Linked DNA regions of Homo sapiens: region 1 is linked to region 2. Evidence: promoter capture Hi-C in 16 types of primary human blood cells and fetal thymus (Javierre and others, 2016). All regions are on one chromosome and are shown on one strand. Each heading gives the region's core, a stretch centred on a gene start or on the middle of the fragment in contact. The rest is flanking DNA. Distances are from core to core; before and after follow the strand shown. Region 1 overlaps HNRNPDL (heterogeneous nuclear ribonucleoprotein D like). Region 2 holds the start of COPS4 (COP9 signalosome subunit 4).

Evidence for each region. Contacts are between HindIII fragments. The CHiCAGO score rates a contact against its expected background, and 5 or more counts as called.
Region 1: a fragment that was not itself captured here is called in contact with the fragment with the promoter of COPS4 in region 2 in 1 of 17 cell types (total CD8 T cells); the score reaches 5.2 in total CD8 T cells.

The regions. Positions count from the first base shown.
Region 1 is chr4:82,425,155-82,429,804 of GRCh38, reverse strand. It overlaps HNRNPDL (heterogeneous nuclear ribonucleoprotein D like), which reads left to right. Exons shown (of 8, transcript NM_031372.4): 1 at 1-557; 2 at 1,359-1,527; 3 at 1,626-1,787; 4 at 2,241-2,372; 5 at 2,501-2,615; 6 at 3,172-3,342; 7 at 3,676-3,768. The coding sequence starts at 115. The coding sequence ends at 3,746. Among named protein-coding and RNA genes, the nearest start is that of HNRNPDL, 3.0 kb to the left of the region's middle. RefSeq lists enhancers at 35-124, 445-504, 1-679 and silencers at 175-414, 725-894. The HindIII fragment of the contact is 3,058 bases long and covers 1,818-4,650 here.
Region 2 is chr4:83,031,915-83,038,450 of GRCh38, reverse strand. COPS4 (COP9 signalosome subunit 4) reads right to left here and starts at 3,268. Exons shown (of 10, transcript NM_016129.3): 1 at 3,153-3,268. The coding sequence starts at 3,226. RefSeq lists enhancers at 2,779-2,838, 2,380-2,885, 2,899-2,958, 2,999-3,048, 3,149-3,498 and 2 more. The HindIII fragment of the contact is 6,632 bases long and covers 366-6,536 here.

The sequences.
Region 1 (4,650 bases), core at 2,097-4,596, 610 kb after region 2:
CGGGACTGCTGACCCCAGGAATTTACGCCCCTTCGTTTTTCTCTTCTGATTCTTCTCTTCTCCCAAGCCCGCGTCCCCTCACGCGTGGCCTCTCTCCTTGCCGGGAGGGCCGCGATGGAGGTCCCGCCCAGGCTTTCCCATGTGCCGCCGCCATTGTTCCCCTCCGCTCCCGCTACTTTAGCCTCCCGCAGCCTCTCCCATTGGCGGCCGCGGCCGCCGCGGCAGCTAGCCCCGCTCCTCCCTTCGCTCGCTCCCAGCTCCGCCCGGCAGGGGGCGCGCCGGGCCCAGCGCCACGTCACCGCCCAGCAGCCCTCCCGATTGGCGGGCGGGGCGGCTATAAAGGGAGGGCGCAGGCGGCGCCCGGATCTCTTCCGCCGCCATTTTAAATCCAGCTCCATACAACGCTCCGCCGCCGCTGCTGCCGCGACCCGGACTGCGCGCCAGCACCCCCCTGCCGACAGCTCCGTCACTATGGAGGATATGAACGAGTACAGCAATATAGAGGAATTCGCAGAGGGATCCAAGATCAACGCGAGCAAGAATCAGCAGGATGACGGGTACCGCACGCTTCTTCCCCCGCTCCCCCTCCCCCAGCGCGCCGCACGCGCCCTTCGTTCCTCGTGAGCCGCGCGCTGCCCCCATTCTTTCTCAGAGTCGATTCCCCGCGTGCCTTCTGGGCCCCACTAGATTGGAGGGAAGAGGAAAGTAAGAGATCGAGGGGGTGACTGGAGAGACCCGGGAAGAGTGGGGGAAGGGCGGAGGGGTTGGAGGAGGAGGGCGGCGGCGTCTGTGTCCCGAGCGCGCAGGCGCCGCGTGGGACCCGGGGGGGAGGGGCCGGCCTCCCAGCGCTGCACGCTGCAGCTGCCGCCGCCTCTTCATTGTGTCTCTGTTACCACTCGGCGCGGTTTTCCTGGGAAGAGTTTTAGAGGACTGAGTTGGGGCACAAGCAGGCGACTGGTACCCAGATTCACAAAACGTGTTATGATTGATGAGTTCTCTGGGTGGAACGTTGGCTTGACAGCTGAGAACGAAGATGGACCTAAGTAAGATAAGATGTGAGGGATTCATCTAGGAAGTTGTGCCTTCTACCTAAAGGAATCTGGGCAGAACCTTTACTGTATTTTATTGGTCTCTTTTGAGCTTTGCTTTATGTAGTGCGGACAGTGAGCTGTCCGCTGGTTTGAGTAACTTCGTTGGGATATTGGGATTTTTGTGTGACATAGATTAAATGTAAACATGAATTAAATTGCCTACACTTAGGGGGTAAATGTCCCTGTTTTTATTTCACGATTTAATTCCAGAACTGAAGGATCATTTGAGTTATTGTTAATTTTTTTTAAAAACACTTTTATTTCTAGTAAAATGTTTATTGGAGGCTTGAGCTGGGATACAAGCAAAAAAGATCTGACAGAGTACTTGTCTCGATTTGGGGAAGTTGTAGACTGCACAATTAAAACAGATCCAGTCACTGGGAGATCAAGAGGATTTGGATTTGTGCTTTTCAAAGATGCTGCTAGTGTTGATAAGGTAGGAACTATGTTTTGCATTGTGCTGCTTTTGTGGTGTTTTGCAAATTTTTCTGGGGGTTATATGGTGCTGTCAGATTAAATAAATCTGTCTTGTAGGTTTTGGAACTGAAAGAACACAAACTGGATGGCAAATTGATAGATCCCAAAAGGGCCAAAGCTTTAAAAGGGAAAGAACCTCCCAAAAAGGTTTTTGTGGGTGGATTGAGCCCGGATACTTCTGAAGAACAAATTAAAGAATATTTTGGAGCCTTTGGAGAGGTGTGTGATTATGTTTACACATGTTAAGCTTGATGTGTTTATAAAATGTTCAATCCTTGTCCGATTTATGCAGGGCAGATTCATGTTTCCTGTAAGAGTAGAATTAAATGACTGCTCAAGTCGCTTCCAGTGACTGTACCTTGATTTCATTGCTGCTCTGATGGAAACCCAACTATCTAATTTAGCTAAAACATGGGCACTTAAATGTGGTCAGTGTTTGGACTTGTTAACTAGTGGCATCTTTGGGTACAAAATAATATTAATTTCTCTCAATGCTTCAAATATACAACAAATCACTGTAGGCTGATGTTGATCATAAAGCAGTGATGTCTGTATAGAAGTCACCCGATAAGAATAACATGTTTAAGTTGAAGCCTGAAAAGGCCTTTGGCATTCTGACACTGTAACGTTTTACAATTATGGGATGACGTTGAGTGTGCATCTCGATTTCAGATTGAAAATATTGAACTTCCCATGGATACAAAAACAAATGAAAGAAGAGGATTTTGTTTTATCACATATACTGATGAAGAGCCAGTAAAAAAATTGTTAGAAAGCAGATACCATCAAATTGGTTCTGGGAAGGTAAAGCCATTTAAGCACTTTAAATGAAAATTTAAATAATTGAAATAATTTCTTGATGTGGAGAAAAATAAAATGATTTAATTTTAGAACTTCGGTAAAAATTATACTTTCATGTTTTTTGTTTATAGTGTGAAATCAAAGTTGCACAACCCAAAGAGGTATATAGGCAGCAACAGCAACAACAAAAAGGTGGAAGAGGTGCTGCAGCTGGTGGACGAGGTGGTACGAGGGGTCGTGGCCGAGGTGAGACTTAATTCTTGAAATATGACTCCGTGGTTTATTTAAGCTGTATACTGCTGAATATGAGTAGTCCTGTACCAAAGCAAAACTTTAAACTTAAAACCATTCCAGCGGAGGGGGGACTGTTCAGCTTAGTGGAGGTTGTGTGTGGTGGTTTTTTGTTGTGAGCTCACTGGTTTCAAAAAACTGTTAAAAGTGTGGCCACTTTGACAATTAGTGTCATCACTGATAGGAAAAGTGTACCATTACATGATACACCGTGGTGTGATAGGTTTTCTTGGGCAGGAGTCCTTGTTTTAAACAGAACAGTGTACCTGTCTTCGGCTTTAATGGAAAATTGAATGATTTTCCATTAAGTTTAGGAAGTTTGATACTGGCACAATTGGACTTTCTGCCTCCTTTTTTATAACAGCTGGAAAAATAGTTTTTCAAGCAGATAGCAATATATATGTCCATTCTGCCCTTTAAGATTTGCAGAGTGAGAGACAAGAACGCATCATTTTATGTTAGAATTGGGGGTCAGAAGTTGTTTCCTAACAATCATTGTGCATTGTTTCAGGTCAGGGCCAAAACTGGAACCAAGGATTTAATAACTATTATGATCAAGGATATGGAAATTACAATAGTGCCTATGGTGGTGATCAAAACTATAGTGGCTATGGCGGATATGATTATACTGGGTATAACTATGGGAACTATGGATATGGACAGGGATATGCAGACTACAGTGGTAAGAATATTTAACTTAATTTTATAAAGCAGTGGTATTAAAATTCATTGTTAACATACAATCCTGTTCTGAAATTGTGTGTATGGGCTTTCCATTAAAGTGTTCGGAGTTAAGTGTTTGAGGCATGTTACAATCATAGGATGATTATACTAACATAGACTGGTGGTTATAAATGAACTAGGATGTATGATTTATGAGTAGCATCTAATGGGTGCTAAAATATCTTAATACTTTTTATTTAGCATGCAAAGATTTGTAGATTTAATAGTTTGTGTTTGTAAAGAAAGTTTTGTAGAAAACTATCTTAATGAGAATTCTGTGTTTTCAAAATAGGCCAACAGAGCACTTATGGCAAGGCATCTCGAGGGGGTGGCAATCACCAAAACAATTACCAGCCATACTAAAGGAGAACATTGGAGAAAACAGGTGTGTATAAGAGTACAGGAAAACAGTAGAAATGTCTAATTTAATTTAAAGATCAATAGACAAATGAAACGTAAAAACAAAATACTATGTAGCCTGTTTTTACTAAATTGTTGATTTTTTAATTGCTTTATGAGCCTGTTTTGCCTAAAGTGTCTATAGATCTTTAACTTTAAAGTCTTATCTCACTTTCTTTAGTATTGCAGAAAAACTTAAGAGTTTTTCTGTTTGCTTTTGTGTACCAGGTGGTCTAGAGGAATAATTAAACATTTTAGAACTATTAACAGGTAAAGTACTGAAATGGGTACAACTTAAGGAAAACAAGAATGTTGTCTTCTAACTCTGACATTATACCTTGTTTGTACCCGCCAGCGGGAACTTCATTGCAGGCCGTGTGTCACCCTGACCACGTCTATCTCTGGGGGTCGCACGTTGCGGGCAGAGCGCAAGGCATACACCAGAAAACGCTGTCCTGTGGTATGGTCTCTTCCAACTTCATGTACCAGCGTAAAGATTAAAGTGGAAAACTTCAGACTTTGGCTTCATTTTTAATCTTTTTGGAGATTAAGTGTCTAAACTTAACTTAAATGGTTTTTTACAGGAGTTAAAGTACATAAATGCCTTTTTACAGCTTAATCATTTTGGTCTTCTGTTTAGTGTTGTATTTCAATTGTGGAGCCTCATTTTAAGTGTTCATTCTTTTAAGATTTAATGCTTGCTTTTTCTTTTTATAGCTAATAGTGAAATCTACAAACCAAAACAAGAACTTTTAAATCTGGGATATAAATTAAAGATCATATGCACAGATCAATTTATGTTCTTGTAATAAACTTATTAGAAATTGGTGTTTGTGATAGCATTTTACTTGGGTTACTAGAGATGCTT
Region 2 (6,536 bases), core at 2,019-4,518:
GATGTGTTTGTTTAGAGTTAAGGGCTCATAGGCAAGCAGATATGGACTGTCTTCTAGCTTCACCACTAGCTGTGTGACCTCAGAGCAAGGTATTTCAACTCTGTACTTTGGTTTTCTCTTATTATAATGTAAATAATATCACTACTATCACCTACTCCTACTTGTTAAGGATTTTTAAATGTAAGTAATGTTGTGCTTCGCACAGTAAACTCTAGATGTTATTGACTTTCACTCTAGAGATGAAAACCACTAAAACTGTTGTGTTTGGGACAACAAAGAGAGAATCAGAATCTGAGTTAGAAGGGGCCTTTGAGGCTATCCTCAATAAAGTCTATCCTCCGTTGTGGCTCTCCTATTCTAAAGCTTTATGTGAGATAATAAATACAATGCATAATATGCACAAAAGCAGCCTATAAAATGGAGGAAATGCTTTTCCTCTGGCTAATTTCTTATATAAACTTTAGACAGCTGTGTTAATTCACAGTTATGGGAAAGCATTTCTAACTGAGTTTTTAACAAGAAAACGAGCATAGTCTGGTAGGTTTAAAATGAGCTTTTTAGAGTAGATGAACCTGGATTCAAATACAAGCACTGCCCCTTTCTAGCTATTCATTAATTCAACCACGTTTATTGAACAACTACTGTTACAGATATCCCAATTGCTAGGAACACACAGTATTGATGTTTTAGAAACAATGTATTCCATTATTCTTTAATATGGAATCCTTTGTTACTCAGCTCCTAAAAAAAACACCCAAAAACCTTCATTAAAAGTACATACAAGAAAAAATACATTAAAAAAAAACACACTGATATATTTCAAGGGTATTTCTCTTAAAGCATATAGCTGGTAGAACTGATGTTGTTGTAAGGATAAATATCCTGCTACATTCTTGCCCACATAGGAAATGCAGGCAAGGCCAAGACTTTTCTCAGAAAGCAGCTCTGAAGGAGTTATGGCTAAGACTGCACTGGCTATCAGTTATCAAGCACATTATTTCATTTAATCTTCACAATAACACCATGTGGTAGACTGCTACAGTAACGGCTTCCAATGAATCGTGTCTCCCTCTGTCCAGGCTCCTTTGCAATGTAACTTTGCCACTAAAGAGGTAGTAGTAAGCTCCATTTCCCCTCCCCTTGAATCTGGGCTGGTCTTCTGATTTACTTTGACCAGTACTAGAGAACTGACGTGAGACTTCCTAGGCTATCCTTAAGAGGTCTTGCGACTTCCCCTCTCATAGGCACCTAAGAAAGCCCAAGCTAAACTACTGAATGAGAGACTGTGCAGAGAGAGAGAGAGATCCAGGCAAGAGCAAGATATGCATGTGAGTCCCGCCCCAGGTGTGTTGCCAGCTGACTATATCTGCATGAGTGAGCCCAGACAAGACCAGCAAAGCAGTCCAGTCAACCCATAGAATCCTGAGAAATCATAGTTGTTTTACACTGGTTAAGTTTTTGGTTTGTTACAAAGCAACAGATAACTGAAGCACGCTTTAAGTACTATTGTTTATCTCCAATTCAGACCTGAAGAAGTAAATACTTAAGTTTCAGAATTCTGCAAATACTTGCAAAGCTCTATTTCTTTTGATAACTAATGCACTTATTCTTCTTTAACAAAATAAAAAGTAAAGGAAGCATGGGGAAAAATATAAGCTGATTTTACTTTCATCCATATAAAAATTACAAGCAGAAAGGATTGAGCCATGAAGACATATTTAACTTATTTCCAACCCATACAATAAGTGAATATATATTTACTGACAGCTTAATAGTAACAACAACAATCTTACCGCACTTTCTATATGTCAGGTACTGTTCTACGTGATATAAGTGTGGTAAGTATATATGCACACACATACTCATCTTGTCCTCAGATAATGTCAGACAAGAATAAGTCCTATTATTATCTTCATTTTCCTGAGTGGGAAAATGCAGCACAAAGTAGTTAAGCCCAAAATATACGGCTGAATTTCCCACTGATAAAAGTAGATTACGTTTGCCACCAGAGAAAAGGCAGCCTAGCCTACTTAAAACAGTCAGAATTTCAATGACCAGGTTAGAACAGGTGTATCCCATTAATATACATCAAAGTGATTTCAGCTGTCAGGATGTAAACATTAAGATCAACTTGAGAGGCATACTTTATTTACTTATTTATTTACGGAGACGGGTGGCGGCGGGGGGGGGGGTCTCACTATGTTGCCCAGGCTGGTCTAGAACTCCTGCCCTCAAGTGATCCTCCCTCTCAGATCTCTCAGGCCTCAAGTGATCTCAGCCTCTCAAAGTGCTGGGATTACAGGCGTGAGCCACTGCACCCGGCCTAGAGAGGCATACTTTAAACAGAAAGCATGTTCATTACAAAAGAGAAATGCTGTGACATCTACAAAGAGAAAATGAACAATATACGTCTACCTACCTATGCTTAATACTGTTGACAACTGCTTGCAGAACAGGCACGTCACACATTTTAACTTGGAGTGAACCTAAGCATTCTATATAAATTTCGACAAAATTCAGATTCCTGCAAACATCACTACTGTAGACATCCTGACCCACGATATGAGCACATTCCGCCTATGTGCCATCAGAGTTGGTGGCAGAGAAAATACCCGAAACACAAGGACCCACAGAAGACAGTCTGAATGGTCTGGACGACATGACAGCGGCCATACCGCCTCAACCTCAGCCAGCCCCAAGAAGCCATCTCCCCGAAAAACGCAGCATCAAGGCCCCAGAATATACATTTCTCTGAATCAAAAAAAAAGAGGAGGAAGGTCCAAAGAGAGGCCAGATTCGGTGTGAGGCCGGCCAGCGATGGGAAGAGGTACCAGGGAAGGCTACTAAGGCCAGGGTAGCAGTCGTCTCTCAGACCGCTGTTCCAAAATCCTAAGGGACCAGAAAGATTCTATCAAGAACTGAACAAGCTGACAATCATTTCAAGTCTATAGCCTCGAAGGCCCCTGCACAAGGTCCCCTCCAGCTTTCTGCTTCTCCCAACATTTGCCTCCCCAGCCGACCTCAGGCCCGCCCCCTTGGACGTCAGGCCGGCTCCTAGCTTCACGCCCAAGAGCCGTGGCCAACCTAAGGAGATTAAGGCTGTGGCTTTCTTTCCCCACCTCTGTACTCCCGCGTTCCTGGGAAATACTCACTTGCCAGCCAGATCTTTATGAGAGCCGCTCGAATTCATGAGCTGGGCCAAATCCTGTCGCACGGCTGCCGCCATCTTTCTCCCAGCTCAGCGGTGGATGCGGGGGCCTCTGGCAGCCAAAAAGAAAACGAGTGTGGTCCTCCAGAGTGCAGCCAGAGGGAACCTGAGATGCTACAGAGTAGCGTCTGTGTGGGCCAGAGCGTCGGGTGTGGGAGCCTGGGCTAGCTCCGCCCCCAGGGTTGAGTGATGCGGAGCTCCACTCCTCAGGTCTGAGGCCTGCCCAGGTCTCTCCTACAGGCTCTGGCTCTCACGCTTGGACTTTGGATTGGCTGATGAACTCCAGTAGTGAGTCTCTGGTGTAACTCCAATGAGTAGCCGGTACATAAAACGACTGCGTTTTCGCAAAGTTCCGTTTCTCACGTCTGTGGTTTACCGTCCTTCGATCTTTCAGGCAGCGCTTAAACTGCCTGTGGTAAAGAATGAGTTTTGTTTCCGATTCACCACAGAAGATACTTTTTAGAAATACAATTAAAATGTCCCTATTCCTCCTCCCACTCCGTGCACTTTATAATGGTTGGTCAGACATTCCAGTTTGTCCAGTACAAAGCGATTTTCCCTCTGTCGTCCTGGAGTAATGATTAATATCCCCCCTTTCGGCCGGGCGCGGTGGCTCACGCCTGTAATCCCAGCACTTTGGGCAGCCGAGGCGGGCGGATCACGAGGTCAAGAGATCGAGGCCATCCTGGCTAACACGGTGAAACCCCGTTCTCTACTAAAAATACAAAAAAATTAGCCGGGCGTAGGTGGTGCACCCCTGTAGTCCCAGCAACTCGGGAGGCTGAGGCAGGAGAATGGCGTGAACCCGGGAGGCGGAGTTTGCAGTGAGCCGAGATCGCGCCACTGCACTCCAGCCTGGGAGACACAGCGAGACTCGGTCTCAAAAAATAATAATAATAATAATAACATCCTCCCTTTCATTCTAGAAACCGTTCCATTTCAATGGAAGATTATATGGTCGCCTGCGTTTGTATAACATTCAATACTCATGTATTCTTATAGAATTTCTGCAAATACAAGCAAATATTAATAAAATAAAATTTTACCTCTCACAAGCAACACCACATAATTGTTCTGCCTTGGTTTTTTTTTTTTGCACTTTTCCTGGTACTGTGGTTTGAAATAATTGTCTTCTCCAAAACTCATGTTGAGGGCTGGCGCCGTGGCTCACGTCTGTAATCCCAGCACTTTGGGAGGCCGAGGTGGACGGATCACCTGAGGTCGGGAGTTCGAGACCAGCCTGACCAACATGGAGAAACCCCGTCTCAACTAAAAATACAAAAATTAGCTGGGTGTGGTGGCACGTGCCTGTAATCTCAGCTACTCGGGAGGCTGAGGCACGAGAATCACTTGAAGCTGGAAGGCGAAGGTTACGGTGAGCCAAGATTGCACCACTGCACTCCAGCCTGGGCAACAAGAGGGAAATTCCGTCTCAAAAAAAAAAAAAAAAACAAACAACTCATGTTGAAACTTCATCTTTAATGTGGCAGTATTTAGAGGTGGGCCTTAAATAGGTGATTGGATCATGAGGGCAAAACCCTTGATCTATTCATGGATTAATGGGTTGTCATGGGAGAGAACATGTGGCTTTATTAGAAGAGGAAGAGACCTGAGCTAGCATGTTAGGAAGGTCACTCCCTTGCCATGTGATACCCTGTGCTGCTTCTGAACTCTAGCAAGTCCCCACCAGCAAGAAGGGTCTCATTAGATGTGGCCCCTTGACCTTAGACTTCTTGGCCTTCATAACTCTAAGATATAAATTCCTTTTCTTTATAAATTACCCAGTTTCAGGTATTCTGGTATAAGCAACAGAAAACAGACTAAGACAGCTGGACATCTTACCAGCTGTCCAGTCTTTCAAAATCACTCTTTTTGGAGCTAGAGGATATTACACAGTGAGAGTATGCCTTAGTTTATTTAATCCTTATAGGACATGTTATTTTTAATCAATGCGATGAATAACCTTTGCATACATTATATATGTACAGGTAGAACACATTACCAGAAATGAGGCAAAGGATAGACATACAATTTTGGTAGATATTGCCAAATTGCATTTTATAGGAATGGTATCATTTTGCCTTCCTACCAGAAATATATAGGGGTGCAGCTTCCTACAGCCTTGACTACAAAGGATGTCAAACTTTTGGATTTTTGCCATCTTGATGTGTGATAAATGGCATATTCCCTCTATTGGGAAAGAGAAAGAGAAGAATACCTGAAGAAGGAATCCCTTTTAAGAATGTGTATTAGTCTGTTCTCAGCCAGGCGTGGTGGCTCATGCCTGTAATACCACCACTTTAGGAGGCCAAGGCAGGTGGATCACCTGAGGTCAGGAGTTCGAGACCAGCCTGCTCAACATGGTGAAACTCTTTCTCTACTAAAAACACAAAAAATTAACCAGGCGTGGTGGCGGGTGCCTGTAGTCCCAGCTACTTAGGAGGCTGAGGCAGGAAAATCGATTGAACACAGGAGGCGGAGGCTGCAGTGAGCTGAGATCGTGCCACTGCACTCCAGCCTGGGTGGCAGAGTGAAATCTCAAAAATAAAATAAATAAAAAAAGAATGTATATTAGTCTGTTCTCACACTGCTATAAAGAACTACCTGAAACTGGGCAATTTGTAAAGAAAAGAGATTTAGGCCGGGCATGGTGGCTCACGCCTGTAATCCCAGCACTCTGGGAGGCCGAGGCGGGTGGATCACGAGGTCAGGAGATCGAGACCGTCCTGGCTAACACGATGAAACCCCGTCTCTACTAAAAATACAAAAAAATTAGCCAGGCGTGGTGGCGGGCGCCTGTAGTCCCAGCTACTCGGGAGGCTGAGGCAGGAGAATGGCGTGAACCCGGGAGGCGGAGCTTGCAGTGAGCCGACATCGTGCCACCGCACTCCAGCCTGGGCGACAGAGCGAGACTCCGTCTCAAAAAAAAAAAGAAAAGAGATTTAAATGACTCATAGTTCCACAGCCTTACAGGAGGCATGACTGGGGAAGCCTGAGAAAACTTACAATCATGGTGGAAGGGCAAAGGGGAAGAAAGTATGTCATCACATGAAGGCAGGAGAGAGAGAGAACACAAAGCGGGAGGTGCTACAGACTTTCAAACAACCACATCTCATGAGATCTCATTCACTATCACCAGAACACAAGAGGGAAATCTGCCGCCATGATCCAATCACCTCCTACCAGGTCCCTTCCCCAACACTGGGGATTACAATTCAACATGAGATTTGAGTTGGGGTACAGAGCCAAACCATATCAGAAAGTTAGGAGATTGCCCACATCAATTCGGATCATGTTCCATTGGCAAGAACTTAATCATATGACCACC